7 separate regions of the Homo sapiens genome follow, and all the other regions are linked to region 4. Evidence: promoter capture Hi-C in 16 types of primary human blood cells and fetal thymus (Javierre and others, 2016). All regions are on one chromosome and are shown on one strand. The core of a region is centred on a gene start or on the middle of the fragment in contact, and the rest is flanking DNA. Distances in the headings are between cores, read along the strand shown.

Region 1 (3,715 bases), core at 380-2,879, 370 kb before region 4:
AATAATCTCTAATATGTCTAACCAGCCATTTGACCATGCGAGATTATGAATAAATGTGTTATTCATATCACATATTCAGCATCATATTTACTTGGGATTAATATATACATATTTCCTTCCTTCCTTTATTCCTTCCTTCCTATGTCCCACCCTACTTCCTTCCACTCTCTTATTTTAAATAATGAACTGAAAAAACAGAATTATAAGAAATTGTCATGATTTTTACTTACTATATTAACAAAAGTAGATACTATAGTCTTCACAGAGACATTCCACATGTTCACAATTACTGTGAGGATGGGTTTGTTTCCTTTAAAAATGTTTAACTCTTCAACTATTATTCTCAGAGTTGATGGTATGTCTAAACGGTCTGGAAGATAGTGTTTTAGTTGTAGACATCATCTATTTCTCTTCAAGCCTTTTCTGTTGGTCAAAAGTATCCTTCATTTCCTATTCTTTTTTTCCTTTTTAACAGTTTCTCAAGGATTGAAAATCATGTTTACTTTTACAAAATGTTACATTAATTATTCCCTATAAATAACTGTCAATTCATTTTCACACCAAAGGAATAACACAACATTCTGTTCATCACAGCTGTTAGCTCAAGACTGACGGCATGGCTGGCCTTGACAGCACTGCAGATGCTGCATTTTGAAGCATACTGCACCTCGTTCTTTCTATGACTGCTCTGTTATTGCCATAAGCTGCACATATGAGTGGACGCAATTAGCCTAATTACAGTTGTCCCTATGACGTTTTTAGAGAGAAATTTTAAAAAAGAGAATGAGAAAAACATTTGAGAAAACAGGTTATAATACATTTTGGCAGTCATTCTTTTTGAAGTTTGCTCAAAGGTAAAATTACGTGTATGAATAAATGAATTTTCACAACCTGAAACAGCACAACAGTTCTCATCAAATTTTAAATTCTGGAACTTTAAGTATGGAATTTATAAGGGGGATAAAAGTGCTTCTGAGGCTAAAAATAGTTCCAAAGGTTAGCTGACCCATGGCCTAATTCTTTTCCTTTCTCTCCTGCATGTATTATCACATTTGAATGATTGCAGGATCGCTGCTTTCTCTTCCTGTTCTGTGTTCTTGCATTATTCCATTGCAGTTTCTAGCTAAATATTAGCTCCATAAAGAAGGGGTCAAATAGACCATGGTCCTTGTATGATCTGAGAAATTTTAATTAAATATGATAGAAGTTTTCTATTTAATTCCTCATTTCACTTAAGGGGTTAAAAGATATAATAAAACTTATGTTCTTACTGTCAGGCACAATGCAAATAATTTTTGCAAGAGTTATATTATTTAATATATGCAAGCACCACAAGGACATTTTGCCATAAGCTTTTACAAATGAATGTTCACAGGCTTAGAGGTATGGAGGAAACTTCCAGGTTAACAGCAAGTAATTGGCCTGGCTAGGACCAAAATGTAGAGTTGGATGATTCCAAAGACCTTGTTCTTACTGAGAATACTACGTGGGCTCCCTGAAACCTTTCTGTGAACAAACTACTTGCCAAATACCTGGTGGGATATGAACTGGTTTGTCAGGGTAAAATAATATTCAAAAAAAATTCAAAAGAGAAGAAATAAAAAAATTATTATGGTGACTAGAGAAAGAAAAGTAGTAACAAGTACGTAACAGACAATTTCCACAGAAAAAGAAAACCATTTTGACTGTAGGTTTAAAATGTGATGCTATAATTTTGAGGGTACAGAGGTAGCTAGATGATGTCTAGGATACAAAGCCACATTTGTCTCTCTATACAGTTCCTAAAGCCCCAGAAAATTGTTATTTTTCCACTTCAAATTAAGAATATGAGAATTGCCAGTGACTCAGCTATTTTATCTGATAGAACATTTAATGTACCAAAAATGCTAGCAAGTTGAAGAATCTGAAAGCTTACCCAACATACAAAATATCATAAATTTAAATCATTTTCATTTCCAAAAATTAACTTTCACATCATGGACATTATGATAACATGGACAAAAAGGTGTGTATGTGTGTGTGTGCGAGAGAGAGCGAGCGAGAGAGAGAGAGAGGAAGTGGAAATGAATGGGCAAGGGAGAAGAGGGAAAAGAGTAGGAAAATTAAACTCCAAGTAGAAACTGTGTCAACAGTGATTAGGTACACCTTATCCATTTTGATGACACATGTTAGAAACACTTCTGTCAAAAGAAAAGGAATATATTATTTTATTGAGACTTAATATCTTTCCTAAAAGGCTGACAGGATACAAAGTCAATGTTTTCTATTTCAGTACTACTTCTTTCCTCCTCCATTTCTTAACAGTACCCCCCACACAAAATAAAACCAAGGTTGTTAATTATAATTTTATGAAATTATTTATATAAAATATTATTTGGTTCAAATTATACTGATTCTTACTCTGCCATACAACCCAAACTCACTATCTGTTCCTCTTCACTAAAATTTATTATGGAGAGGAGGCAGTCAATTACATTGGTGGACCCCAGTGGACTATGTCTATCATTATTCATGTCCTTGTGCAGTCCCCTCCCACATTACCTCTGGGCTTGGCTATGTGATTTGCTTTGAGTGAGTAGCATGTGTGATGCAAGCAAAACCTTAATATGTTTTCTACATTGGAGCTGTAATCTTGGAAACCACTTGCTGTGCTAAAAGAAAAGATCAGGTTCGATTGGAAGACAAGAGGCCACATGAAGAGAAACCTCTGAGGATAAGAGATAATTCTGACATTCTATTACTAGCAGAGGTCATAGCTGAACGAAACTGCATGAATGACCTCAGCTACAGTAGAGCACCCAACTGACTGAATCCAGTCAACTCATAGAATTATCACAAATAATAAACTGATGTTATTTTAAGCCATTAAATCTGGGATGGGGATTGTTACCTAACAATAGATAAATAAACAGAAAAGACTTAATCTGAAATGTGTGATTGACCACATTGTCCTCAAATACGTTTTTCAATATCATAAGCAAATTTAGCAGAAAAAAAGAATGAGTCTGACCTCAGAAAGTAAGAAAGAATTAGTAAAAATTCTAAAACTGAGCATGGTAGGGCAATGCTGCCAATATTATCATGATACTAATAGAGTAATTCATACAGAACAGATTGTATTATATCCTCATAATCATTGTTTGTCAGCTCTGAGTAATAGTCCTGGTTATTAATGAGGCAGAATTTGCATTTTTAGCTTTGCTGTGTTTCAAAGATTGAGGTAGTTGGATTTGGTTCACATACTGGGATGCAAAAATGGCAGCTTGTAAGTCAGATCCTTTTTATATTCCCATCAGTAGTTAATTATAATTCATAGCTAAAACAAGCACTAGCCAAGTTAGGCCATCTAACACGCCAAGTCTACCCCAAAAGAGGGAAGCCAACATTAAGTTCATTTGTAAATTAAAAATAATAAATATATACATATATGTATTAATTTTATATCTACATACACTTTTTTCAATATTACATTAAAAATGTAAAAACACACACACTAGTATTAGAACATTTTAACAGTCAAATTACACTCTCTGGAGAGAAATTTCAGCTCAACCATTATTCTCCTGGCTTTATTTATGACAAAGCTGCTCACTTCTAGAGAGAAAACTTTTCAAATAGAAAACACAAAAGCACTGAAAACTAAGTTCAAAATCAAACTAACACTTCTAGAAAAGTGAAGCCAAATCTCTCTATGTGGTTTTTTAAAAAGTATTTC
Region 2 (3,515 bases), core at 541-3,040, 490 kb before region 4:
AGTCCCTTCTTTATTGTATTTCTTGATTTTACAAGCTTGCTGTACAGATTAAATGAGATTTTTTAAAAAAGCCCTAAAACATAGTGGTAAAATGTTTTACAAATACAATGGTACAGCATTTTATATATAGATGCAAGACACCAATTGGTTCTATTCAGTAGAATTAACTTCACAAAAACTGACAAATAACATGCTGTTATCAATCAAGTCAACACATTCCTTTATAGCCTTAGAGCTAAACTTTATAAGCAGAAATGGTTTTAAGGTTCTTTGGGGGCTCTTTACAAAAGATAAGCTATTATCCTGAATTATGTTTCATCTTTCCTCATTATTTAGGACCTCATACCTGATCCCAGGAGCAAAAGATGATTCCTGCAGATGTAAGATTAGACTGTGCTACCTAACTTGGAAGTCTTCATGTTTGATAGAAAACCTCCCTGGCAAGTGTCTTTGCCACTAACCTTTCTGGAATACTTTTACATATTATTAAATGCATACGATATAATATTGGAGTAATGTGAGGGCTGAGGGATTCCATAAATCCCCACGTGGTTCAGTGCAGTGGTTCAAAGCATGATCCCAGCTCCTGTTAAAGCACTTAGTGGTTATATGATTTAACCTCTCTAAGCTTCAGATTGTTCTTTTGAAAGACTGGGTTAATAAGACCTACTTAACAAATGGAGTTTTTAATCAGGATAATGTAAGGTAAAGTCTTTAGCTACTCTGTGATCATTTTTATCCCAAGGGTAAGTCTTTGGTAGAAACTATGAGCCTTGTTTATTAGCTATTTCTGCCCACTAAAATCTAACTTTCATGAAAGTTGAAATCCTATCTATGTTGTTGCCTCTGAATATCCAGCGCTTTTAACAGGGCTTGGCACTCAATAGTCCCTCACTAAATATTTGCTGAAAGAGTAACTTACTAAATAAATGTAAAAATGATCAGCAAATTTCTTCATGCCTACTTGTCCTTTATCATTAGCCTACAAACTTGATCTAGACTCATTCATCCTAAAACATAAACAAAACAAAACTCAACCCTCCCTTGACCATGTATCTCCCTTTAGACATAGTCTTAAAACTGGTCTAACCATCTTTGGTCTTATAGCCTTCAAATACATATGCCACAGAATCACCAGAGTGTTCTACCTATGGACATCTTACCACATCTTTCCTCTGCTTAAAACTTTCTGATATTCCTCAGGTGCTTGGTACATTATCTTGCAGAATCATCCTTGTCTATGATGTATGCCTCTCATCTCTTAATATTAGATCAGCTCAAGCTCCTTCATATGGCTCAATGCTCCCATAACTAGCACCTTCCCTCCTCTCAAGCTTGATCTGCTACCACTCTCCAACTTGCATTTCATTCTTCAGTAATATCCTGACTGCCTGCAATACCTCAGACATACCATGCTTTGTTTCTGTGCCTTCTATTGGTAATGTTTCTCCTCTCGCACCTTCTTCACCTGGTTAATAGTACCTTCCCCTTTAAAGCTAAGTTCAGGAGTTTTATCTTTGAGGAGTCCTTTCAGAATGACCATTGGTGAAGAGATATGAAGAGTGAATGAACTCTCTCAGATTAGACCAGCTTTCTATAAACTCAATTTTCAGAAGAAAGTCACAAAAAAGAGATTAAGTAGTTCCTCCTTTGATTTTTTTTTTTTTAAGAGACAGAGTCTAGCTCTGTCATCCAGGCTGGAGTGAGTGCAGTAGTGCAGTCATAGCTCGCTGTGGTATTGAACTCCTGGCCTCCTCTTGCCTCAGCCTCTCGAGTAGGTGGGACTACAGGTGTGTGCCACCATGCCTAATTTTTATAAATTCTTTTTTTGTAGAGATGGGGTCTTGTTATATTGCCGAGGCTGGTCTCAAACTCCTGGCCTCAAAAGATCCTCTGGCCTCAGCATCCCAAAATGTTGGGATTACGGGTATGAGCCACTGGGCTTGGGTGATTATAATCTTTTCTTACCTCAGAACTATTAAGAAAACTCAATATTTCAGTTTTAATATATTGCAGAACTTTGGAAAGGAAAACTCACAGCAAAGACACAGACAGAAAATGTGTGCCATTACATCTATCCAATACATTGATTGCATTTTTACTTTATGGCCAAAAATACCTCCAAGTACAAGAATATTAAGCCTGAATCCTTGGCATGTTTATGTTTTTCTTATACCCAATCTCTGCTTCCTGATGCTATACTTACATGATAGCCAATGCTGTTAAATTATTTTTTAATATAACAACAAAGCTTGGAAATGTTTAGGAAAGCTGCCTTGTTGAGTTTCCCTCCCTGGACTGAACACAACTATTGTAGTTTAGTTAAGTGCTATTGATCACGATTCACTCTCTATTGATTTATACTAGAATACAGTCCCTATAATCCACTCAGAATTAGCCCAGTCCGTTTGAAACTCTCTCAATCATTTGTGTCTTTGCCTGCAACATTATCTTGTAGAATCATCTTTCTTTTCTAAATCTTCTAGAGTCTAGTTAGAAGACTATACATTACAGGTGTTCATAAAATATTTGTTGCACTAAATTGAAAAGTGAAAATACCACTGTTTCGGATGTGAAAAATAAAAATTCTTTATTTCTACACAAGCTCTTTCATTAAGCTCCTCACTGAATAATGTCTTCTCTGCTTTCACTTGCTAATATCTTGCTTTTCCTTACTTTATCATCTATCATATTAGCTTGAGATAAAATCACCTGTAACCTGGTGGGATATTAAAATTGCACAGGATTGAGATTAATTTCTTAAATACTTTAGACCTAATTCCTCCTGACCAAATCAAGGGGGTTATAGCAGAAATCCATAGCAGAAAATAAAATTAGGGCCACTCCACTTACTCACAAAAAGAATCATGATATAGACATATAACTTTACATAATTTATAGATATATTTATTGGTATAAAATAATACAAACTCAGCAAAGGAGACATTATTTCACTCAAGCAATTATTTTACTCTAATAAATAATTTCAGAATTACATAAAATTCATAGTTAAGAAAAACATAGCAAATAATTAGGATTTAACTTCTATATAGAAATGAATGAGCTCAAATATTAATTTAATTTTAGATATTAAAGAAATTTTGTATGGAAACTTTAGAAACATAAAATTTGACCTCATAATAATTCTCACTGGAATGTGTTTAAAGTAGTAACTTTATAGTCCTATAGTGCTATTGATAACATTTTGGATATTCAGGTTGGTGAACACCATTTTTTCCCAGTTTTAATAAGATTTCCTAAAACTGTAGCAGTGTATTGTTTCTTTAAACTTTGAGTTAAATGTCTTTCTGTGACTGCTTGAATAGTTTATATTATTAACATCTAATTGTTTTATAATAATATGTATTAGAATGTATCATTTTATATAAAGAGATCTTACAATAATCTATTAATAGTATTGCATCACAGTAGAGTAGAAAAAGAGCTTAAAAGTCTGTATTATTGATTTCAATATCTACATTCTGCTGTTATGAGGAAACCTGAGCCACAGGTAA
Region 3 (3,856 bases), core at 630-3,129, 470 kb before region 4:
TTTAATAATGATATGATGGATTATTACCTGATAACACTATAACACCCAGGCTAAGTATGTAGCAGAAAACAAAATAAAGAATTGAAAAAATAGCTGGACAGTTTGATGCTGCAGATCACTGTTATGTAAACTGTATCCAAACTAAACTGGTAGTATTTTTGGCTGACAAGTGTTCCAAGTCTAAAGGGCCAAAGGTTACCAAGTGCGGCTTAATTGCTGCTCCAGTCCTTCCCCCTACATAAGACTGCTTAGCATTGAACAAGATTTGACTTTTGGGAACCTGGTCCTTTGAGACAATCTATCAAAGAAGGAGGTTGCAAAACTCAAGTAATTTCTTGGAGTAATATATACTTTATCTCCACTTTTAGAGAGTGACGCTTACAATAAAGAAATGGCTTGGCTTCTTTAAGCCTATTATTTAACAAACTTATTTTTACCATGGAATCATTTTGAGGGACATTTATTATGCTCTGATAGTACTGAGTGCAAGGTGCTCTGTAAATTCTTGAGTTAGATACCTTTGACAGTTGTAATCACTTTTATAGTACACCAAGAAAATACTATACTTTTGAATGAACTTAGGTCTAAGAGAACTGGGTTCCTCAATAATGGTCTTCCCTTTTTTTTGTTTTTTGAGACGGAGTCTCGCTCTGTCGCCAGGCTGGAGTGCAGTGGCGTGATCTCTGCTCACTACAACCTCCACCTCCCTGGTTCAAGTGATTCTCCTGCCTCAGCCTCCCAAGTAGCTGGGACAACAGGCACGCGCCACCACACTCAGCTAATTTTTGTATTTTTAGTAGAGACGGGGTTTCACCATGTTGGCCAGGATGATCTTGATCTCTTGACCTTGTGATCCACCTGCCTCGGCCTCCCAAAGTGCTGGGATTACAGGCGTGAGCCACCACGCCCGGCCAATAATGGTCTTCTTTTAAAAATCTTGCATACTAGGATTCCCTATGAAAATGAGACCAAAAATAACTTATTCAAAGTTATTACTTTATGAAATATCAGTAATAAATTCTAGGTTTGAAACGCTGAGATCGTAAATGAGGGAGTATTTATTTCCACAACTCGTGCGCACCCCAGCACTTGACAGATGAGGCTAGTCCTGCACCAGCACTGACTGGTGGCCACTGCTGCCAGAAGCAGTCTTGTGAGGGGTTCAGTCACGGAGGCTCGGCAGCAGACAGCACCCAGGTAGACTGCTAATGGCAGCCATAGGTGTAGAAGGAATCTGTGCCACACATTTGCCACCCCTGAACAATGAAGTTTTTCTAATTATTAGATTTTTAAAATTCCAGAGACAAAAAAACAGAGACTACTTAAAAAGAAGACCAAGGGATAAGAAGCAGAGTTCCCAATGCATGTACCTGAGAAATTCCTTGTAGCCAGCATAGTTGTCAAGATGGCACCCTGTGAAAAAAATTAGAACACAAAAGTCAGTGTTGCCTATGCAAATTCTGGACCTAACAAATATAGAGTCTTTGATAACAAATCTTTTCCTGGCCCTACTTTCAGTTAGGGGATTTTTTATTGTTTGTTTTTGTTTTTTGGTTTCCTGAGAGTCAAAGGCCTTTGTCTCTCATGATGCTGGGACGGCCCTAGTGTGCGGGCCAGATTCTGATTATCAAATTGCACAGCTGTTTTCCACTGAAGGAAGGATCCACAGCATGTGTTGCCAGGATGATTCCAGCTTTTCACCATAGTTTTGATTCTGGTGTATATTCCATTTCCCAAGAGCCCCAAAAAGAATAATGAGAGTATTGAGGTCTACATAATTGAAAGCCTTTGCTAGAAGTTATTTTCCTCACACAGTATTTCACTTCTTAGTCTGTCAAATCTACCTCCCCATAAAAATGTAAAATTTCTTACCTTTAGTTTTCTTCTAGCATTAAATTTCTTCAAGCAGTCTACAGTCTCCTGTCTGTGCATCATGGAAGCAACAGTAGAACGTTGCTAGAAGAAGAGGAGAAAAAGTAACTTAATTGAGAATATTTAAAACACACTAAGTATAATAATGTCCCTGACTTCATCAAATATTTATTAATGGTGCTGCACCTGCAGGATCAACTTCTAAGTATTCAATTGCCAAAGTTACCTAAAAATAAAATTTTAGTTTTGCCAAGACTACTTGTGACCAAGATGCAACACTGACGTATAGAAAGTATAGAAATGGGCCGGGCGCGGTGGGTCACGCCTGTAATTCCAGCACTTTGGAAGGCCAAGGCGGGTGGATCACGAGGTCAGGAGTTTGAGACCAGCCTGGCCAACATGGCGAAACCGCATCTCTACTAAAAATACAAAAATTAGCCGGGCGTGGTGGTGGGCACCTGTAATCCCAGCTACTCGGGAGGCTGAGACAGGAGAATTGCTTGAACCTGGGAGGTGGAGGTTGCAGTGAGCCAAGATCGTGCCATTGCACTCCAGCCTGGGTGACAAGAGCAAGACTCTGTCTCAAAACAAAACAAAACCAAACCAGAAAGTATAGAAATGAATATTAATAATTTCTCAAATTATCTTTATTTTAATGTCTTCAATCACATTTTGATTGAGCTGCCTTTCATTTACTTAGTGCCACATTTATCACCTTAGCATTTGACACATTTGGAAATTTACTGAAGTCTCCAGATCCCCCTCAAATTTCACACTATTCTTCTTAATATTTCTAAAATATATTCAGACTACTATGACCATTATTTTACGCCACTGAAACTCTACTGTCAGCTGCCAAACTTCATACTTGTTTCTAAAGTTGCCTAATGATAAATAATTGAACTTTGTTAAATCTTTTCTTCTGGGACACATTTAATTTTGGTGTTATTTTCTTAACCTTGTTCATGAGTATTGTTAATAATTGATATGGAGAATACTCATTCCTTTTGTTACTGCAAGCAATATTTATTTAAGAATCTATGCAATTCAGACTTTGCTACTGAAAATTGCATTTTTTCACCATCATAAAATTAATTTTCTTAAACACCTCGAGTCAAAAATTCATTCATTCTGAGTTTCATCTTTTTTTGCAAAGCTATTTTAAATCCATAAACAATATATTAAAGGAGAGCTTATTTTTCATTTTAGTTCTTGAAGTTTTGGAGAAGTTTTACTTACACAGATCCATGGGTGCTTCAGTGCCTCTGAGGCTGTGATGCGTTTGGCAGGGTTGATAGTAAGCATTTTATTGATGAGGTCTTTGGCTTCAGGAGTCACCGTGTCCCATTCTGGTGATGGAAACTTCAAAAATATAAATTTATAAAAAGTTTAAAAAATAGACACACTCGATCAAACAGGGAAGAGTCAACTACATGAATCATTCCCTCAAGTAGTGAATTTCTTCATAAATTTACTTTTTATATAAGTTAAGTTGTATCTAAAATAAATAAAACCATTTAGATCTATTCTCCCCCTCTATGTAGACAACTATATATATTAAAGAGTATCTGATAAGGGACCAACATATGTACTGAGCTGCATATCACATATGGTAAATACATTTTAAAATTCAGAAAAAAAGAACTTAAGAATCTTCTATTCTTCTCAAAGTATCTCTGCTTTGATCTGAAAATGAAATTTTATACAATCTTTCTCATAATTATTTGCAAAACTTAATAAAAGCAAACAGGTTGCTACATGTACCAATGTCATCATGATATTATGCCAAGGTTCAAAATGAGGTATTATATACTTTCACAACTCATAAGCAGTAATAGCAGAGGTAATAAAACAGCTTCAATTCCTGTGCCAAAACTGACCTATTAATCAGGGCTACTTGGAGTGCTGTAGTGAGAAGAATCTGAGACTACAGGAGCTTCAGCAAGATTTCATTTTAACCCTTCAAGAAGTTTAATCTGCCCAA
Region 4 (3,529 bases), core at 70-2,569:
ATTCAGTTGTTCCCCATACTTTCTGTTACTCCCTTAAATTTGGAGCTGGATCTTCATTAAATGCTTAAGATTTCTCCAAGGAATAAATATAAGAAGTAGGAACACTTACTTTCCAGTAATAAACTGACTCCTGGATGGTGTGCAAATAGGCTGGACATAGTAGTTCTCCAGTTTAACTCCTTCGGCAGCGAGCTTGTCAAGAGTAGGTGTTTTAATCTCAGATCCGTGGTAACCCACATCTCTAAATCCCTGATCATCCGCTAGGATGAAAATGAGATGGGGCTGGGAGGTGGAAGTTGTGCTGGGCTCTAGTTTCTCTCCAGCTTGAGCTAGTAAGGCCCCTTCTTCCTCCTCTTCTAAGGCCTGGCCCCAGGACAGGTAACCATAAGTGAGGAGGCAGAGGATCCAGAATCCTGCCAGCGCCCCCATTGCTAGCATCTTTCCAGGACAGACACAGGCCTGTGGAGAAGGCGGAGGCGGATGCCCCGCACAGCCCCTGGGAGCCATTCACTCAGGTCCCAGGTGAGACTCCACGCGGAGAACCACGCGCCCCGCGCCGCTGCGGGCGCACACATGCACCCAACAGACGGTGAAGACTCTCCACCTGGCAAGAAATCCTCCTCTCCTCTCAGCTGTCACCATGTCCGACAACTTTAATCTTCCAGAAGTGATGGCTTAATGGATGGGACTCCGGAAGAACAAGGAGGGCTCGCTCTTCTCCAGCACATTTCACTTTCTCCTCCTCCTCCCCCCTCCCTAGAGCAGCTTCCACCAAGGAAAAAAAAAAGAAAAAAGTTAATATCTCCACCCAAAAGTTCTCTGGAGAAAAAAACCAAGCAAGGAATTGAGAATCACAGTGGACAGGAACTTTTCGTGGCCAGAGCGCCCTCGACGTTGGGGAGCGAGGCTGACTCTCCTGGGAGTGCTGGTACGGAGGGCGGCGGGATCGGCCGTCTGTCCTGCGGTCCCCACACCTGGAAAGAACTGCGAAGTGGACGCGTCGCGTCTGGCTCTGATCAGACAGATAAACTGCCGTAGTGGACCGGCCTCCTGATCACCTTCTCCACTTTCCCAGGGCTATTTTCCCCAGTCCTTTCCTAGGCGTTTGCCAATCTCCCCGACACTCACCAGGCGGCGAAGTGAGGAAGAAGCCGTTTCCTGATCTCCCTCCACCTCCGCAGAAACTCCGGGCAGCAATTCCTTTTCCCCGCTGCTAGGGAGCCTGAAGGCCAAAGCCGGGTCCCTAGCCCCGCGGCCGGTCCGCGCGGAGCCCGCTTGGTCTTTGCGTAGTTGGCGCACCCGGCGCAGGCGCTGCAAACTGCGTGCGTTTTCTCAGCTAACTTATTTAGCTTTGGCACTCCGAGTTCTTTTGCCTCCTCCCTCTTTTCTCTCCAGTGAATCACAGAACGGTACTTTCTTCCTGAGCTCCCCCGGGAAGAGGGGGTGGGGGAAAAGGACTGTTTAGAGGCTCGATCTTTCCTTTTTCTTTTCCGGGAGGTGGATGGCCAAGGCAGAGGAGGCTTTGCCAGAGAGAGAGCTGCGTGCTGCTCCAGCCCAGCGGGATTCCGGGGGATCCGCCTGGGCTACCGCGTCCCAAGAGTGTCGCCTCCTGCCCATCACCCCGCTAGAGGGAAAGGACGGCGGCGCGAATGGGGAAGGGTAAAGCGGGCACTTCTTTTCGTGGGGCTGTTGGTGAAGAGCCCCGTCTCCCATCCCTAAAGTTGCGCTTGCAAACTTTTTCTAGCTTCTGGAGGGAGTGAGAGAGAAGGAGCAGGAATAAAAACAAAATGCGTATGACACTCTTTCCTCTTTCCAACTTCCTTTGCAGGTTTTCCTTTACTAGTCCCCCCACCCCCATCATTTTCCTATTCCTTTTGTCCCTACCTTTTTTTTTTTTTTTTTCAGTAACGATGACAAATTTTTAAGTTTTATTTCCTCTCCCAATAGCTGGCTTTTACAGCCTGATTCTTCGTTACCCTTTCCCTATGTGAAAATACTGGAATTGCCCGCTCCCTCTTACCTCTCCCCTAACTTACCCACAGGGTGTCTCCAGCCAAAAGCCTGGAGAGGAAGAGTTATGCATTTCTCCTTCAAGAACCCCGAAGCCAGTCTGCATTCCTGCATTAAAGAAGCCAGTGTTTCCCATCCAGTAATTCAGGGAGCTTCATCATTTTTTTTCCTTCTTTCTTTTTTACCATGTGGAGGAAAACCATTGTAAAAACTTATCTTGGTTGTGAAAATACTCTTGATTTTACTAGAGTCATAGAGTTTTAAAGTCCTGCTCAAAGGCAGCAGAGGGATGTATAGTATAGTCTCTATAGAAGAGGCAATGAATGCCAAGAGCCACTGAGATATTTTTTTCTACCACCAAATTTATTCAACAGTTACTTACTGAATACCTACTGTGGGCTGGCACATAACATGTCAGATTCTCTCAATTGACTGAAACATAAATCTAGGTTTCATTTAGCCATTTATTTCTAATTCTCTCCTGTTGCTAAAGTTCCTGCTGAGTTCCCAGGCAAAACTTTGTGAAATGGGAACTTTGAAAGGCACGATGGTGCTCCATGAAGTTAACCTTGCTAGCTGCTGTAGGCCTTCTGGTCTCTGTTCTTCCTTGCAGCCCTTCTGGCTAAGCTGGGGAGAGATAGTCAGTTTTAGAAGCCATGTTCAGAAATGTGAGTTTAGCAATTCTGTAAATTAAGTCACCAAATATGTAATGAGAGTACTGAGTGTCAGGGGATTGAAAAGCATTGAGAGGTAGGGCCCTAGGCTTAATGGGCCTAGCCAGGTGCTTGAATGGGAAAGATGCAAACATTCTGGTCAATCTAGCCTTTTATTTGGGGAGATAGTGACTTCTTGTGACATAGCACAAGAAGTATCCATGTTCTGTGCAAGAAGGAGACACATTTTCAGTTGAGGTTCCAAGCAATAATAATAAAAAACAATCAAAATGTATGGAATACTTACCATGTGCTAACCATAGTATTCTATATACTGATACATACACACATATACAGTCGCATCTATCAGGGATTAGTTTCAGAACCCTGAGGGATACCAAAATTCATGGATGTTCAAGTCCCTTATGTAAAATGGTGCACTATGTGTATAAAACCTACATATTAATGTATCTTCTATGCTTTAAAACATCTCTATATTACTTATGATACCTAATACAATGTAAATGCTATGAAAATAGTTGTTGGACTGTATTATTTTTATTGTTGTATTGTTATTTTTTTTTCTTCTTTCCTTGAATGTTTCCAGTGTATAGTTGGTTGAGTCCCATAATGTAGACCCTGCGAATACAGAGGACTGACTGGGTATGTTTGTTTATATAGTGCTATATACAGTTTATTTCTTTTCCATCTATATCAACCTTATGAGGTATTCTTCCACTCAACAAGTATTTGGGGAGCTGGGCCAATGCTAGAGGACAGGAAGGTAATGATGCAATAAATCAGTCTCTGCTCTGTTGGAATATACACCAGAGTGAAGAAGAAATACATTCATCAATGAATCACCC
Region 5 (3,356 bases), core at 240-2,739, 390 kb before region 4:
TATGGAGTTACTGTCAATGAGACAATGTGTATATGCTTGTCAGTTTGAGAAGGAGGAGTTCATGGTAAGTGCTTAACAAATGTTCACTCTTATTAAGGCCAGACATTCTTTTACAAAATCAAAATGACTTTCAAGTAATTTCACATGCTGATAAAGGCAATTCAGTAACATGCGCCTGAGGCAAATTTCATTTGTGACTATGGCTTTTTACTCTTAGGTCTTATTCACATAGTTAGGTTTTTCAGCAGAGACAACATCCCAGTCTCTAAAACTCTCTTTCACACCGTAACACTCAAAAGGAAGAGCAGGGTCTTTATTCTTAATTATTTTTTGCTTTCTTTAGGAAGAGATTATCTGAACAACTAAAGAGAACTGAAGGATTGAGGTTGCTTTGAGAAATAGTTTCATTGAGAAATAGTTAATATTGAAACACAAAGTTACAGAAACAATGCTTTAAATCTAAGTGTATATGGAAAGTGTTCTTCCTTCTCCAGACTATTAGTAACAGTCAGTTATAAAGTTTTTCCAAACTCTGGGCCTAAATTTTAAAGGTCTAAATATTGCAATTCCTATGGCATGAGGCTGTCTATCATCAGTACACGCTAGTCATAGTCCCCAAGTGTTTTGGGTTTCACAATTATCAGCTAAGCATACCCTTCGAAAAAGTCTGTATCATCAATAATACTAGGAAAAGAAGCCAAATATGATGATGATGTCATCCAGATCAGTAGGTTTCTTTGTTCAAGCAAGAGCAGGCAGAAAATATTTCTTTCTGCCCATGAAAATGCCCCATTTGGGTCAACATTTCTGGAAAGGGTTGAATAGTTTTCAGATTCCAAAATAAGAGATTAAAAAAGCAAACAAAAGAGTCTTTCTTTCCAGAGACTCCATTGAAGAATGCAACCACTGAGAAAATATATTAATCCATGTATATACGTTGCATGTTTCAGTCTTGGCACCTTGTGGGTTTGAGAAAGAAAATGACAGGAAAGACTTCAATTGCTTAAATAATTATAGCCATTAGTATCAGGCTCCCCGGGTAATTGAATATCCTACTTTACTTGCTGGCTAAAAATAAGTAGCCAAATGTTTCTAAGAAAAAGACAAGGTAAATGGTACATACTGATACTTCAAATCATTAAGCATCATAATAATAAAGAAAAATCATATTTCAATTTAAGTACATCATAAATACCATGTGAGACAACACTGCCTCTATTTAGACCATACAGGCATAACTATTTTCATTTCTTAAAACGTATCATGATGTCTCATTTTGCTCAAAAGCAGATACTTGGCTAAACCAAATCTCTAGTTTTAGTACTGACCAAAAATCAATTTCTATGATTCTGAGCATACTAATTAACTATTACTTAGGCAATAGTTGGCACTGAGGCACCATTATGTAACCAAAGTAGCAAGTAGATGAAAGAAAACCTAAAACATTCACTTACAACTCTTTAAACCCTTTGCAAAACAATGCTATATTCTTCCCAGAAGTTTTCTCATGTGCTCTTCTGCAAAAGTATTTATTGAACATCTGTTATGTGCTCTAGACACTGGGGATAATAGTGATCAAAAGAGAAAAAAGTCCCTGCACTAATGGAGCTTACGTCATAGTTGGTAATATAGAAAATTAACCAGATAAATTAATTCATGGTAGTTTAATAGTGGTGTCAAAAAAGAAAAAAAAAAAAAGCCAAGGAAGGAATTAAGAAAAGTTGGTGAAGAAAGCAGATCAACTTTTAGATTGGTGGGCAGGGAAGGCCTCTGTGAGCCAAGCTCTGAGAGGAGAGCTGGGGAGACCATGCAGGTTTCTGGGAGAGGAACACTCAGGGCCAAGGAAAGAGGAAGTGCAAATACCTTGAGCTGCAATATGCCTAGCATGTCCCAGGCTGTGAGGTAGGCAGTGTGGCTGGGGCTGAGTGGGTCAGAAGGAGAGCAGTAGGCAATGTGGCAATGGAGTGTTTTGAGCAGAGGAGTGGCATGCTCTTGGAATTTGATAGGAACTCTCTGGCTACTGTGTTGAGAGAAGACTATATGAAGGTGAGGGTAGAAAGAGGAAAACTAGTTGGGACACTTTTACAGTGATCCAGCAAGCGATGATAATGGTTTTGGCCAAGGGGGTGCTGTGGAGATTCAAGATATATTCAAGTTCTGACAGATTCAAGTTCTGAATATATTAGATTCAAGAAGTGCAAATGTCTTGAAGTTGAGATATGCCTAGCATGCACCAGGCTATGAGTAAGGCAGTATGGCTGGAGCGGAGTGAAATATATTCAGTTTCTGAATGTATTTTGAATCTAATAGGAGTTGCTGATGAGTCAAATATGGTAAGTAAGAGAAGGGCGCAATGAGTCAATAATTACTCTAAGGTTTTTGGACTGTGAGCCTGAAAAAGACGGAGTTGCCACTAAGAGGAGTAACTTTGACCTTAGAGAGATGAGGAGAACTGTTTTAGATATCTTAAATTTGAGATGCCAATTAGACATGCAAGTAGAGATAGTGAGTAGGCAACAGAATGCGCAAGTCTGGAGTTTGGGTAGAGGTCTGAGTAGCAGTTGTAAATTTGGATATCATTAGCTTATAGATGGAATAATTTAAAGCCATGATACTGGATGAGATTCTTAAGAAGCAAGTATAAGCAGAGAATGCATGATGCCCAAGGACCAAGCCCTTGTACTCCTACGTTTAAATGTCTGGGAGATGAGGAAGAACCCGCAAAGAAGATACAAAAGGGTGGAAGGAAATTACCTCTATGGTATGGCCAAATTACCTCTATGATATTTTGAATATATGCATGTTAATAAGGTTAAATGAATATTCAAAAGACTTAAAATATCTTGAAGAGAGGCACAAAATCCTACTCATTTTGGGCTTCAGGGACCAGCACTGTACCAGCTACATAAAAAAACACTAAATGTATCTGTTGAATGAATAAGTGAATGGATAAATGAATGTAGAATCTTAAACATTCACTTTGGCTCAATGAATATTTATTGAGCATTTTCTAGTTCCAGAAACTGAGCAAGACACTGAGAAAACAAATATAGATAGAGATCTATCTGATAGGGAAGACAGACAGGTTAACTTGATAGTATATTGGTTTAATTTCTTGCTAAGAGAAACATCAGGCAATTAAATGGAAATATATCAGACACAGAAGAAAAAAGTATGTTATTTAGGAGAATGACAGAACTCCTTTAAAGAAAATTCTAAAATCTGATTCCCCATCCTCCCTTTTAACAAGAAATATAAGAAATTACAGTGAAAGTCAATGGATAATCATGATTCAAGATAGTCAATTTCCTATGCATAAAACTTTTCATTAACACGTCTATCACTACACGAGAACA
Region 6 (3,404 bases), core at 893-3,392, 330 kb before region 4:
CTTATTTTCTTTTCCATAAAGAGATGGCAAAAGCATACTTCTCCTCTGATAAGGCTGTCTGTGGAAGCTGGTTAGAACAAGGGACATTCTTTTTTTCTTTTTCTTTTTTTTTTTTCAAGATGGAGTCGCGCTCTGCTAGAAAGGCACCAACTGCCCACCAGGGCAAGGGCAAAGCCTTCATGATCCAAAGCCTCCCATTAGGCCCCCTCTCATACAGTTTCTACCCTACACCTTGCTGCACTGGAAATTATGGTTGCAATAAGAGTTTGGGCAGGGTCAAGTTACATCCAAACCATAGCAGAGACCATGCTAAACTATATCTATAAAATAAAAGAAAGATACTACAATTTAAAATGAAAAGCTAGAAAAAGGGAACATCTGAACAGTATTACCAAATCATTTACAAATAGATATGTAACAAAAGAAGAGCAGAAACTATCTGTGTCCTATAAATCAAGATTAGAAATTAAACAATCAAAATACCAAATGTTTTAATCCACAAAACTGAAAGTCTTTCCTGGAAGACAAGTGACATTACATTTCTTCAATCTATATTCATTCAAATATATGCTAAAAGTATTATATTTCAATAGAAAGGGATAATTCTGTCTTCCAAGATATAAGATACAAACATGATAAAAAAGTTTTTAAAAAAAGTCCAACAAGGGCAGAAGCACTAGTGTAGAGAGTTGGGAGGATAAAAGGGCAAAGCCAGAGGCAAGTATGATAGGTTCAGATCAGAAACAGGGCTGTCTATGAAGTCATACCTGGGTGCTCATGCACCCAAATTTAAAGTGTGTAGAACAAATAGTCCAGGGCCCAATAAAAGCAAGTCAAAAAACAAGAGCTAAGCCAGCTGTATCAATCACCAGTCATAAGAACAGGGTCCGGACTGTGTTCATCATTTTTGGAGGTCAGGGAATTCTGATAAGCTGCTGACAGAAAGTAAGAATTGTTCTCTATTTTGGCAGCTCACAGTCTACATCTATGTACAAAAGTAAGTGAATGAGAGTAGGTCAGTATCTCCCACGCTTAGCAGCGGAAACCATCAGACTTTCCTCCCACCGACCATCTTGATAATCTGCTGGATTTGGCTCTTTGCCTTGATTCCAAGTGCTTATTTCCCTTTCCAGGGGAAATTTAAATTATATCTGATAAGGGCCAACAAGTTCAGAGTTGTATCACCCTCTCTGAGTAATATCAGACTACTCCTCAGTGTCATGTTAAACTCAAATTAAACTGGACAGAGTATTTATGGGGACCCAGGCCAGCTTTACAAGTGAAAAATAGGCCCAAAGAATAAAGTAATTCTCTTCATGAGATATTTGCAAATCAAGGTGAATACAATATGCTTTTCTGTACTCTGAAAAATGGTCTTATATTACATCAAATTATGTCATTCTAGTTTATACCTATTATTGTCAGAAGAAGTTTGTGTAATTAAGAAAGGCAAGCTCACAACTGAAGTGATTCTAACTTTGACTTCATAAGACGTGCAGACCCTGGTATACTCAGGGTGTTTTGAGAAAGATGGGGAAACAGATGGGTTCAAAAAGAAAAAGACCTCAATAAAATCAGAAGAAACAGAAAAAATAATATCTTGTCAGATTCTTGGCTTAGATGGTTACAAATCTGCCAAATGAAGACAAAGCTGACCTATATCATAAATGGGACAAAAGTTTAAAAGTAAGAGCAAAAGTCAGGAGTCAAAATTATTCTAGAAGCAGCACTTGTGTGTAAATTCAAAGGTAATCTGAAATAGATCATCAGTTCCCAAGGAAAATGAATAAAGGGAAGCCTTGAGTAGTCTCAGCTTAAGTCTAAAATTCATAGGTTACCTAGGTGTGGTGGTTGGCAGATGAAGGCACCAAGAGGTAGGCAGCTATTATCCAGAGCTTTATCATGAGGCAAGAAATCTAGTCAATGGGCAACCGAGAAGGTAGGTAACAATAAGACCAACAGCAAGACTGAAACAAAACCAAGCAACAGGTGTAAGGCTTTTTGTATCACATTAGACCTAGAATTGAGAGCTGAGCTAAACCAGAAATCAGAGTTGAAATGACACTATCTTCCAGAATTAGAGAAACTCAGAAGTGGGAAGCAAAGCAGATCATCACTGCACCCAGATATTTTAGCTTCTCCCTTCTAGGATTCAGAATCTACAAAGTGGCCGGGAGACACAAATAAAGCTATTTGTCAGATCCAAGAAAAAAAAGCATTAGGGAGTTCAGCAGACCTCCAAGGTCCAAGTAATCCACAAAGATGAAGTCATCTCACTGTAGAGCAGGGGTCAGGAAACTATAGCTCAATTGCCAAATTCAGCTCACCACCTATTTTTGAACAGCCTGTACTGAGAATTTTTTGTTGTTGTTGTTGTTTTTTGTTTTTGTTTTTGTTTTTTGAGACGGACTCTCGCTCTGTCGCCCAGGCTGGAGTGAAGCGGCACAATCTCGGCTCACTACAAGCTCCACCTCCCGGGTTCACGCCATTCTCCTGCCTTAGCCTCCTGAGTAGCTGGGACTACAGGCGCCCGCCACCACGCCCAGCTAATTTTTTGCATTTTTAGTAGAGACAGGGTTTCACCATGTTAGCCAGGATGGTCTCGATCTCCTGACCTCATGATCCGCCCGCCTCAGCCTCCAAAAGTGCTGGGATTTTAGGCATGAGCCACCATGCCCGGCCTGAATGTTTTTTACATCTTGAGATGGATTAAATGAAATTCAGATTTTAGTGTCCATAAGTAAAGGTTTATTGGAACATAGCCATACCTATTCATTTATGAAGTTTCTGTGGCTGTTTTTGTGCTACAATGACAAAGAGGTAGCACTGCCAGCACAGCCCAAAATATTTACTATTGGGTGCTTTACAGAAAAGTTTGTCAATCCTTGTTCCAGGACAGAGCTCCCAAGTGACAGTGAGAGATAACCAACCTTTCTCTTTCTTTCCTGACTACTGTAGTTTGATAACTTCATTTGAAAAGCAGCTTTTTGCTTGGAAGGGTAGAGTAGTCAAATAAAGGGCTACCCTAGAATAAGGTTTATCCAACCTTATCTGAAAGGCTAGGTAATCCAGCAAGGAGAAAAAAAAAAATCCATGACATTTATTGATAGTGCTGTTCTGCTTTCTGGAGTATCATCAAAATGCTCCCGAGGAAGGTAAGGAAGCAGCTAGCAGTTTTAGGTGTCTGCCACATAAAAGAGACCATGAGCCCCTCACACTCCTGACAAAGATGATTCAAATGCTGCAGGGTGTATGAGAAACACATCAAAGATCACCAAAAGGGTCTGGGCCAAGATTCCAGCCAGCAGAATAGGAATTTCAGAATACGATAAGGAGATGTTAAGGAAGGTCAGGCAGTAAAAAGAGGTTTGCTGACTCATGTGGTTTGTTGACTTAGCAAGTCA
Region 7 (3,892 bases), core at 1,187-3,686, 440 kb before region 4:
TCCAGATTACATCCAATGTTCTTAGTGTGCACTTTCAGATCCTTTATCATCCGGCTACACTTCATTCATTCAACATGATTTCATTCTCCTTCTGAGCCCTTGACCTGACTAATCTCTTTAAGGTCTTTTAAAAATGGCCTTCTCAGTGTCACCCTTGATACTACTTTTTCTGTTCCTTGAATCCTCAATATTTTTTCTCTACCTCTTTTCTAACAGAGAGTGGCTCTAAGTTATTTCCATCTTAGAGCTCTCCTTAGTTACCTACAGTTCTCGGTGGTCCCTTCTCACCCTGAATTTCAATGACTCTTTTATATACAATCTGTACTCTTCTGTCTAAATCAGTAAACTTTAATAATGTATGATTTCAATAACTTAGAATACATGGCCAGAAGTACGAAATGTTAACAATACCTCTCCTAAGCTTCCCTAAGATAGGGAAGTAAGTTACTATGTGAGGAAGAAATGAAAAGATCATTTAAAATATAAATTATTACAAACCTCTTCTGGAGACTAAAATTCTAAGAGAATACCAGCATGCTCATTCTTATTTAGTTACAACCATCATTTGAGCAGTCAATGGGGTCCTTACCCCAAGAATATTGAAGCATATATCTAAATGCATGGACGTTAGGAAAGAATGTACGGTACAATGTGACCTCATAAATACAGACATATGGGGGGTAAAATAGAGAAGACCTTCTCTGTGGGAAATTAAACTTGCAAGAATCTAGGATTATCATACTACATGCCATCAATAGAAAAAGTAATGAGAGCTTGCCTTTTTTAGGGATAGCATATGTTTCTTACTTTGAAAAACCAATAAGAAAATCAAAATAGATAACACAAAGAGAAAAGAGAATTACTGACTGTTGGAAATGTATCCATTGTAACACATTGGCATAAAAAGAACCTTAATATCATAAAAAAGAGACATAACAGCAACAAAGCAAAATAATTCTTCCATGAACCAAGATCTTGGTAGTTATCTTTTTTTTTTCTAGCAGCAACAAAATGCTAGAAATGTATTGCAAATAACATGTCCAGTTCCATAAGAGAAACAGAATATATTTGAATATTTCTTTTTGGTAAATTTTCTAGCCATCTTATCAAGTATAGTGACAGGGTGTTTACTTCTACCAGTTTTGGCTAGTATTCCAACAGACCAGACTAGAAAATGAAAAGTAAATATGGGAAAAAACAAACAAGTTGGGACTTGAAAAATGATAATTAAAAAAAAAACAATAAACAGCTTCCATAATGCTTTGTATTATCTATTATGTTGTTTCGTATACATACTATGTTTTTTCTTATTTGTAATGGACCTCGTATATTTATTAAAATAAAATTATGTAAAAGCCTGAAGCTCTGGTATTCCACATAATGAAGAAAGAGTCCTGCTCTTTATCAAAATTAAAATAACAAAGCTTTTCCTCCATAAACACTGATATTACATTTTGAAAGATAAAATTAATCAGTAAAAATATATGGGACTATAATGGCAGATCATAATGAATAAACATCAAAACAGGTCATTCATTATTAAAACATGCCTTTACTCCTAATACTTAAAATATATCTGGCAGCTCATCTGAAAGAAACGTAGAACACCACATCTCCTTTTTTCTCAGATTACCATGAAGATTCGCTTGAACTTGAGAAAAGAAAAAGAAAGAGAAAAAAGAAGTATATTCTCCCAAGTTTAGACACTCTGTTTTTCTGTACTTCTGAAATACTGAATTGCCTTAGAACTTAAGATGTTGCTTCTTTTAAAAGTTATTACTCTAACAGGTACCTTAACAATAACTTAATTGCTGATAGCACCATGCTGATGAAGTGGAAATTTTATTGCTGAGCTGTCACTGCTTCTTTGGGACCAGCTTGTTTTTAGAAATCAGTAACAATTTGAAAATCTATGTACTTTTATTTGGATGCTATTGCTTTTACTGACCTGATATTCAGTCCTCTACTCACTGATTCACTAAACAACTCTCACTGAATATGCAAAGAATTATGTCATTGTTTCACACCAAGACAATTTTGAAAACTTATTGAACATCCTTTATAGCTCAATCAAGTTTCTATGGACTATTTCACTCAATCTTATAACAGTCCTGTGAAGAAGTGTTTATTATCCCATTTACAAAGAGGATAGTGACCTCACAGATTTAAAGTGACTTGCTCAATATCATACAGCTGTTAAGAATCAGAGCCAAGATATAAATTCATATATTCTGATTCATAAAGTAAAATTTTTTCCACTACACATAGCCCTGCTCTCAAACTATATGTGTCATAGCAGAGGAGATAAAACATTAAGCTCAAAAACAGACGAGATTTAAGGAGCTTGATTCCAACATTCTTGTAATCATCAAACATAGCTGCTGATGCTAATTTGAGCCTCAGACCTGATAACAAAGGCTTGTCTTATTCCTGATATCCTATCATCATCTTTACCAATTTCTGGCAATTATATCCCTGGGCCTAAGTTCCCATTTTTGTATCCTGCCTCATACCCCAAGTCTCTCATGAAGTGGGGTCCTGCTTTGCTCTACACAGGACTCGAGTCCTGTCTTTGAACCCAATGTCTGGGACTTTCATGTTTCCTAAACAGATTCCCTTAGAGTTCATATTTCCTGTCTGATCTGTATGTTATTTGGAACTTGCTTGCTCCTACACCCTCCCTAGTCAACGCTATCATCATGCATAATTTGAACGATTGTTTTAGTCTAACTGGGTCCTTGCTTGCAGATTAACTATGCTTAAATCATCTTCTATACTTCTACTGGAATCATTATTAAACAACATACACCCAGTTATGTCCCTCTCTTCTAAAAATGTTTCACCAGATCCCAAAATCTCTAAGGTGAAATCCAAATCCTTCAAAAAAACATAAAATCATTTCCTGCCTCATTAACTACTACTCACTCGAGTATACTTTAGCTTTATCAAACTTCTTGTTTTACTGTAATAGAAAAAATAGTTTCATGCCTCTGAGCCTTTCCATGTGCAGATCCCTCTGTCTGGAATGCCTTAATCTTCTTGCATGACAGTGAGCAAAGTCCCATTCATCCTTTAGGCAACCATAAGTGTTAAGGCAATTATTGAACCTCTCTCCAGAGGCAGGTTTTTGTACTTCCTGTCTTGTGTTCCCACAGCACCTCATACATTCCTATGTTAAGATACTTCCACCCTGAATGGTAAATAGTTATAGATACAAAAGCCTTAGCTCCTCCAGGGTCAGGACTTCCTACTTAATTTATGTATCTCTAGTATTTGCTTTGCCCATCTCTGTGATAGCCCCACTACTTCCTGTTCAACCCTTAACTCCTGTTACAATATATTCTTTCTGTGTTAATTGTACTCTTTTCCAGGATACAGAGATCATCTGAATCTCTAATTTACAGACCTAATCTAGGCCCTACCTTCGTTCAGTTTGCAGTTAATGGGTACAAGCTTATTAAAAAGTTAAAATATTATAAACAGAATGACAAGTTTGGAGGTATTAAATTCATCTAGGATTGGAGGGTAAAAAGATAATGTAAAAGATAATATTAAACATGAGAGAGACTTCAACCAAGAATAACTGTCAGGTACTACTGAAAAAGGACAGGCAGCAGGAACTGAGGTCCTGCATTAGGCTGCCAGGGAGGCTTGGCACACCCTCCACTCCCAGTAACAGCTGGGGCAGAAAAGGGAGATGTGGTGAATCCTGGGAGCCATATGTACATCTTGGGAGATGTGTACATTAGGGACTCAGAAAAGTATTTGCATATAAAACAAAGAAATAGCATGTTTTTAGTCCTCTATTTGTTGTTGTTGCTCAGAGGAAAATAAATCAGAAATGAAGGGCATTAAAACAATTATCTAACCTCAACACACCGAAAGTCAGAAG

Evidence for each region. The method cuts DNA at HindIII sites, captures the fragments that hold promoters and counts their contacts. A CHiCAGO score of 5 or more calls a contact.
Region 1: a fragment that was not itself captured here is called in contact with the fragment with the promoter of ARSJ in region 4 in 1 of 17 cell types (naive CD8 T cells); the score reaches 5.1 in naive CD8 T cells.
Region 2: a contact is called between a fragment that was not itself captured here and the fragment with the promoter of ARSJ in region 4, in 4 of 17 cell types (total CD4 T cells, monocytes, naive CD4 T cells and 1 more). The highest score is 6.1, in total CD4 T cells.
Region 3: a contact is called between a fragment that was not itself captured here and the fragment with the promoter of ARSJ in region 4, in 3 of 17 cell types (non-activated CD4 T cells, naive CD4 T cells and total CD4 T cells). The highest score is 7.5, in non-activated CD4 T cells.
Region 5: a fragment that was not itself captured here is called in contact with the fragment with the promoter of ARSJ in region 4 in 1 of 17 cell types (non-activated CD4 T cells); the score reaches 5.4 in non-activated CD4 T cells.
Region 6: a contact is called between a fragment that was not itself captured here and the fragment with the promoter of ARSJ in region 4, in 1 of 17 cell types (monocytes). The highest score is 5.1, in monocytes.
Region 7: a contact is called between a fragment that was not itself captured here and the fragment with the promoter of ARSJ in region 4, in 1 of 17 cell types (total CD4 T cells). The highest score is 7.1, in total CD4 T cells.

Annotation. Positions count from the first base shown.
Region 1 is chr4:113,611,859-113,615,573 of GRCh38, forward strand. The region is part of intron 3 of CAMK2D (calcium/calmodulin dependent protein kinase II delta); the gene reads right to left. Among named protein-coding and RNA genes, the nearest start is that of CAMK2D, 150 kb to the right of the region's middle. The HindIII fragment of the contact is 558 bases long and covers 1,351-1,908 here.
Region 2 is chr4:113,484,476-113,487,990 of GRCh38, forward strand. The region is part of intron 16 of CAMK2D (calcium/calmodulin dependent protein kinase II delta); the gene reads right to left. Among named protein-coding and RNA genes, the nearest start is that of CAMK2D, 280 kb to the right of the region's middle. The HindIII fragment of the contact is 917 bases long and covers 1,333-2,249 here.
Region 3 is chr4:113,511,958-113,515,813 of GRCh38, forward strand. It overlaps CAMK2D (calcium/calmodulin dependent protein kinase II delta), which reads right to left. Exons shown (of 21, transcript NM_001321571.2): 10 at 3,112-3,234; 11 at 1,873-1,956; 12 at 1,371-1,413. Among named protein-coding and RNA genes, the nearest start is that of CAMK2D, 250 kb to the right of the region's middle. The HindIII fragment of the contact is 4,836 bases long and covers 1-3,856 here.
Region 4 is chr4:113,978,328-113,981,856 of GRCh38, forward strand. It overlaps ARSJ (arylsulfatase family member J), which reads right to left and starts at 1,320. Exons shown (of 2, transcript NM_024590.4): 1 at 110-1,320. The coding sequence starts at 507. LOC107986305 (a long non-coding RNA gene) reads left to right here and starts at 1,486. Exons shown (of 2, transcript XR_001741794.2): 1 at 1,486-1,659; 2 at 2,043-3,201. It overlaps LOC124900762 (a long non-coding RNA gene), which reads right to left. Exons shown (of 3, transcript XR_007058237.1): 3 at 2,568-2,637. The HindIII fragment of the contact is 10,512 bases long and covers 1-3,529 here.
Region 5 is chr4:113,587,204-113,590,559 of GRCh38, forward strand. All of the region lies in intron 4 of CAMK2D (calcium/calmodulin dependent protein kinase II delta), which reads right to left. Among named protein-coding and RNA genes, the nearest start is that of CAMK2D, 170 kb to the right of the region's middle. RefSeq lists an enhancer at 1,173-1,342. The HindIII fragment of the contact is 3,852 bases long and covers 1-3,356 here.
Region 6 is chr4:113,642,634-113,646,037 of GRCh38, forward strand. All of the region lies in intron 3 of CAMK2D (calcium/calmodulin dependent protein kinase II delta), which reads right to left. Among named protein-coding and RNA genes, the nearest start is that of CAMK2D, 120 kb to the right of the region's middle. RefSeq lists a silencer at 920-1,214, enhancers at 3,059-3,404, 3,320-3,404 and a cis regulatory region at 3,387-3,398. The HindIII fragment of the contact is 6,339 bases long and covers 1-3,404 here.
Region 7 is chr4:113,532,675-113,536,566 of GRCh38, forward strand. The region is part of intron 7 of CAMK2D (calcium/calmodulin dependent protein kinase II delta); the gene reads right to left. Among named protein-coding and RNA genes, the nearest start is that of CAMK2D, 230 kb to the right of the region's middle. The HindIII fragment of the contact is 2,029 bases long and covers 1,423-3,451 here.